Linked DNA regions of Homo sapiens: region 1 is linked to region 2. The links are contacts of gene promoters, found by promoter capture Hi-C in human tissues and cell types (Jung and others, 2019). All regions are on one chromosome and are shown on one strand. The core of a region is centred on a gene start or on the middle of the fragment in contact, and the rest is flanking DNA. Distances in the headings are between cores, read along the strand shown.

The links. Contacts are between HindIII fragments. The study calls those that stand out against the background at their distance.
Region 1: a fragment that was not itself captured here is called in contact with the fragment with the promoter of S100A2 in region 2 in 1 of the 25 tissues and cell types used here (spleen).

Annotation. Positions count from the first base shown.
Region 1 is chr1:153,381,038-153,384,135 of GRCh38, forward strand. No RefSeq gene overlaps it. Among named protein-coding and RNA genes, the nearest start is that of S100A12, 7.0 kb to the left of the region's middle. The HindIII fragment of the contact is 6,662 bases long and covers 1-3,098 here.
Region 2 is chr1:153,564,105-153,567,146 of GRCh38, forward strand. It overlaps S100A2 (S100 calcium binding protein A2), which reads right to left and starts at 1,740. Exons shown (of 3, transcript NM_005978.4): 1 at 1,402-1,740. RefSeq lists enhancers at 97-854, 855-1,612, 1,732-1,791, 1,765-2,964, 2,662-2,901. The HindIII fragment of the contact is 11,510 bases long and covers 1-3,042 here.

The DNA of each region.
Region 1 (3,098 bases), core at 556-3,055, 180 kb before region 2:
TAGGAGATATACCTAATGTAAATGACGAGTTAATGGGTGCAGCACACCAACATGGCACATGTATACATATGTAACAAACCTGCACATTGTGCACATGTACCCTAGAACTTAAAGTATAATAAAAAATATATATATATAAAGAAGATATTAATAGAAAGATCTCAAATTAACAACCCAACCTCCACCTAAAGTAATTAGAAAAACAAGAACAACTAAGCTCAAAGCTAGCAGAAGAAAAGAAGTAACTAAAATAAGAGCAGAACTAAGTGAATTGAGACCCAAAAAGCCATACAAAGGATCAGTGAAAGGAAAACTTGCTTTTTTGAAAGGATAAACAAGATTGATAGACCATTAGCTAGATTAACAAAGAAAACGAGAGAAGATCGAAATAAACACAATCAGAAATGACAAAGGTGACATTACAACCGATTCCACAGAAATACAAGAGATCCTCAGAGATATGAACCTCTCTATGAGTACAAACTAGAAAATCTAGAGGAAATCAATACATTCCTGGAAACACAACCTCCCAAGACTGAGTCAAGAAGAAATAGAATTTCTGAACAGACCAATAACAAGTAATGAAAATAAATCAGTAATAAAACACCTACCAACAATAGCAACAACAAAAAACCCTGTATCAGACGGATTCATAGTCAAATTCTACTAGATCTACAAAGAAGACCTGGTATCAATCCTAAAGAAACTATTACAAAAAATCAAGGAGGGACTCCTCCCTAACTCATTCTATGAAACCAATATCCTCATGACACCAAAATTTGGCAAAGGCACAACAAAAAAAGAAAACTACAGACCAATATCCCTGATGAGCATAGACATAAAACTCTTCAACAAAATACTAGAAAACCAAATACAGCAGCATATCAAAAAGTTGATTTCCCAAATAAGTGGGCTTTATTCCTGGAATGCAGGGATGGTTCAACATATGCAAATAAATACATGTGATTCACCACATAAACAGAATTAAAAACAAAAACTATATGATCATCTCAATCAATGCAGAAAAGCATTCAATAAAAATTCAACATTTCTTCATGATGAAAGCTCTCAATAAAATAGACATCAAAGAAACATACCTCAAAATAATAAGAGCCATCTATGACAAACCCACAGTTGACATCATACTGAATAAGCATAAGTTAGGTGCATTCTGCCTAAGAACTGGAACAAGACAAGGATGTCTACTCTCACTATTCCTATTCAACATAGTACTGAAAGTCCTAGCCAGAGCAATTAGACATGAGAAAGAGATAAAAGGAACCCAAATTGAAAAAGAGCGAATTACTTCTTTTCACTGACAATATGATTCTATGTCCAGAAAACTCTAAAGATTCTTCCAAAAGACTCCTAGACCTGATAAACAACTTCAGCAAATCTCAGAAAACAAAATCAACATAGAAAAATCAGTAGCATTTCTATACACCAATAATATTCAAGCTGAGAACCAAATCAAAGATGCAATTCCATTTACAACAGCCACACACAAAAAATAAAATACCTAAGAAAATATCTAACCAGCAAAGTGAAAGACCTCTACAAAAAGAACTACAAAACACTGCTACAAGAAATCATAGATGACACAAACAAATGAAAAAGCATGCCATGCTCATGGATTGGAAGAATTGATATAGTTAATAAGTCCACATTGCCCAAAGCAATCTATAGATTCAATGCTATTCCTATCAAATTACCAAGGTCATTTTTCACACAACTTTACAAAACTCGTCTAAAATTCATATAGAAGCAAAAAGAGCACAAATAGCCAAAGCAATCTTAAGCAAAAAAGAATATAACCAGAGGTACCACATTACCCAATTTCAAACTACACTACAAGTCTACAGTAACCAAAACAGCATGGTATTGGTACAAAAATAGACACATAGACCAATGGAACAGCATGGAGACCACTGAAATAAAACCACATACCTACAACCAACTGACCTTGAACAAGGCTGGCAAAAATAAACAATGGGGAAAGGAAATCTTATTCAATAAATGGTGCTGGGGAAACTGGCTAACCATATGCAGAAGAATGAAACTGGACCCTTACCTCTCACCACATACAAAAATTAACTCAAGATGGATTAAAGACTTAAATGTTAAGACCTTAAACTATTAAAATCCTGGAAGAAAACCTAGGAAATACTCTTCTAGACATGTTCTAGGCAAAGAATTTATGGTTAAGTCCTCAAACGCAATGCAACAAAAACGAAAACTGATATGGGACCTAATTAAACTAAAAAGCTTCCACGCAGTGAAAGAAACTAATAACAGAGTAAACAGACAATCTACAGAATGGGAGGCAATATTCACAAACTATGCATCTGACAAAGGGCTAATACCCAGAATCTATAAGGAACTCAAACAACTTAACAAGAAGAAAACAAATAACCCCATTAAAAAGTGGGCATAGAACATGAACAGACATTTCTCAAAAAGAAACACAAGTAGCCAACAAACATGCAAAAACTAATCATCAGAGAGATGTGAATCAAAACCACAAGAAATATCATCTCACATCAGTCAGGATGACTATTATTTAAAAGTCAAAAAAATAACAGTTGTTGGCAAGGTTGGAGAGAAAAAGGAATGATTATATACTGTTGGTAGAATGCAAATTAGTTCAGCATTTTGGAGATTTCTCAAAGAACTAAAAATAGAATTGCCATTCAACCCATCAATCCCGTTACTGAGTATATACCCAAAGGAAAAGACACCTGCACTAGTATGTTTATCAAAGCACTATTCACATTAGCAAAGACATGGAATCTACCCAGGTACCTATCAATGGTGGGTTGGATAAAGAAAATGTAGTACATATATGTCATATATGTCAATACTATGAAGCATAAAAAAGAACACTATCATGTCCTTTGCAGCAACATGGATGCACCTGGAGGCCATTACGCTAAGTGAATTAATGTAGAAACAGAAAACCAAATACCAGAATTTCTCACTTATATGTGAGAGCTAAACACTGAGTACACACAGACAAAAAGATGGGAGTGGTAGACACTGGGGATTCCAAAAGGAGGGAGGGCAGGAGGGGCACCAGGGTTGAAAAGTTACCTAACAGG
Region 2 (3,042 bases), core at 490-2,989:
GTCTGGGAGTCACCAAGCCTCCTCTGATGGCACTTGGGACACCCCCCTGAGGGCAGGGCTCCCCATTTTAGTGTCTGCCAGAAGGGAAATGACAGGGTGACCAGAGTCCCATTTTGATGGCATCTGCGCAGGCTCTGGGGAGCAGGGCCACATGCACCGGCTGGCAGATGGGGGCTCCTGTGCAGTCTGGCAGGAGCCATGGCTACAGCCTAGGAGCAGGAAGCTCCCTGAAGGAGTCGTTTCCCTCCTTAGACTCGGGACTCCTGAAGCCAGAGGCATCTCTCTCTGCCATCTAACTGGAAGCTCCCTTGGGCAGGAGTGTTTCCTCTCTCAGACTAGGAGCTCCCAGAGGGTGGGGAATGTGTCTCCCCTCACCCTGAAGGCCCCTGAGCCTCTAGGCAGACAGGGGCATGGATAGGGTGGGGGCAACTTAACATTCTCTCCACCAGGAAGGATCCTGTTGGAATTAGAATTAAAGATATGAAATGTTCATTGCCTTGGGATCAGGATGGGACAGACCTCAGCGGCAAGGCCTCTGAGAATACTCAGACCAGCCTGGAAAGGTTAGGCAGGTTTCAGGGTGAGGCCAGAGGAGCTATGCCAGAGGCAGGGCATGCCCTGGGCCCATCATGCCAGCCCTGCCTTCACCGAGGCAGGGGGCAGAGCTTTGCTGCTTGGGGCCATGACCCAGGCAGAGTCTTGAGACCCCTGCCTCTTGCACCTTAGTCCTGCTAGAATCCAGGACTTTGCAAAAAAAAAAAAAAATCTCAGGATTCTTTTTGCAGCAACGCCCACATGCACACCTCCTGCTCCTAGGCCTAGACCCCCAAAGAAGGGCCCCTAGACTGAGATATCCAGGGGAGGGCCTCAGAGCAACCCCTGCACTGAGACCTCACAGAGGAACCTGGAGAAAAACCCTTCAGTCGGCCGGGCGCGGTGGCTTACTCCTGTAATCCCAGCACTTTGGGAGGCCGAGATGGGTGGATCACGAGATCAGGAGATCGAGACCATCCTGGCTAACATGGTGAAACCCCATCTCTACTAAAAATACAAAAAAATTAGCCGGGCATGGTGGTGGGCGCCTGCAGTCCCAGCTACTCGGGAGGCTGAGGCAGGAGAATGGCGTGAACCTGGGAGGGGGAGTTTGCAGTGAGCTGAGATCACACCACTGTACTCCAGCCTGGGCGACAGAGCGAGACTCCATCTCAAAAAAAAAAAAAAAAAAAAAAAACCCTTCAGTCAACACTTCAGCACTTCACAGAGAGTTCTTCCAAGGGGGAAGGCCCAGAGAGGCCCAGGTTGATCCCACCAGGGAAGCTGGAATGAGAGAACTGTGGAGACAAAGACAGAGACCCACGGGGATCCTCCCCACCCTGCCCTCAGCAGGACAGAGGTACTCACCAGACCAGGTGGCAGAGACAGACCCAGGAAGGAGAGCAAGGCAGCCAGGCTCCCAGGGTGAGGATTTATATGTGGGCCCCACTGGCCCCCAACTTGGCATTTTAAGGAAACCAAACCTGCCTCAACCTGATCCCACCAAACCCTGGCCTCTTGCCATTCCCACTCATTCCCTCCCAGCCCCCTCCCTCCCAGAGAGTGCCAGCTCCACCACCAGCTGGGGGAGGGCTCTAGGCCAGGTCAAGGGCAGCCCCTGAGCCCACCCAGGCCACAGTGGGAAGTGGGAGGTGTCGTGGGGACTGGGCATCCTGGACCGGGGTGAGGGGAGGCAACCCCTGCTCTGGGGCCTGGAGACTGGTGCCAGGCCTCATTCTCATGACATGCCTGTGAGTCACAGCCCACTCCTGTGTGAGAGGCTGTGAGCACACGCTGAGACTTCATGGTCCAGTGCTCGTGTACATACATGCGCCCGTGTGTGTGAGAGAGAAGCAACCTGGGGCCACCCTTAGGAAGCTGGGGGCCAGAGGAGGCAGCTGGGGGACATCAGGAGGAGAAGGACAGGACTGACTTCAGGGCATGGATGAAGTGGAGTGACTTTTAATGGCCAGCACCAGAATACCTCTTAATGAGGTAATGAGGTAACTAAGTGTGCTTAGAAATACCTGGGAAGGTCCCTCTGTGTAGGAAGGTGTCTGGAAGGATGGGGAAGCAGTGAGAAATGGGGTTGCTCTACACACAGCCGCAGTTGGGCTGGGCCACAGTCTGTGGGGAGCATAAGGAAGTCCCGAGTAGTTAAAGGCTGAACAGGAAAACTTTGGCCTCCTCTTCTCCAGCTTGAGGGCTGGGTGGGTGGGTAGGGGTACATCCCTACCCAAGGCTGAAAACACCAGCTGGACAGCTTCCCAAGCCAGAATCCAGGCCTGAAGCACAGCCCTCAGCCACAGCCCTCTCTCACTGCCCCCCACACACATGTCCTCCCCAGACCCGGAGAAAGGCAAACACTGTGGCCATTCAGAGCCCAGCCCAAGGGAGGGCTGCCCCCTCCCAGGGCCCCTTCCTCCTTGGCCCTTTGTCTATCCCGGCCCGTCTGGGCATCAGGGCACCGCCCTTCCTGTGGCCCCAGCTCCCCTCCCTGCTCCAGCTGTCGAGTAGCTTCTTCCCCTCCCCCAGCCCCTCTACCTCAGCCCTAAGTGACTCACCCGAGGTTCCAGGCCCAGATGCCCAGGCAGTGACTCAGCGGCACACCCTCCTCCCCCAGGGCCAGGGCAGCAGCAGTCCCAGAGCAGTAGGTGGAAGCCCCAGCCCAGCCTGGCAGGGAAAGCACTGGCACAGAGACCCCAAACAGGCCCTGCCAGGAGGAGCTTTGGATAATGACATGGCAGGAGGATCAGACTGAGAACAGGCTGGTCCCTTCCTAGCGGTCACCGTGTGACTTGGGGGCCAGCCTGAGCAGTGTACATGAAGTCAGGCCTTGGGGCCCCCAGTGTCCTCTTCTACACCTTGGCACAGCCACCGAGTGTCCCTTGCTCCCCTCAGTACTTGAACCCCTCATGCTACTTGTCTTCCCATCGAGGCCTACTTCAAGTAGAACTCGGAATAAAAACCCTTCACACTGAGGGTGAGGGACAAGGGAGCGCAATGCAT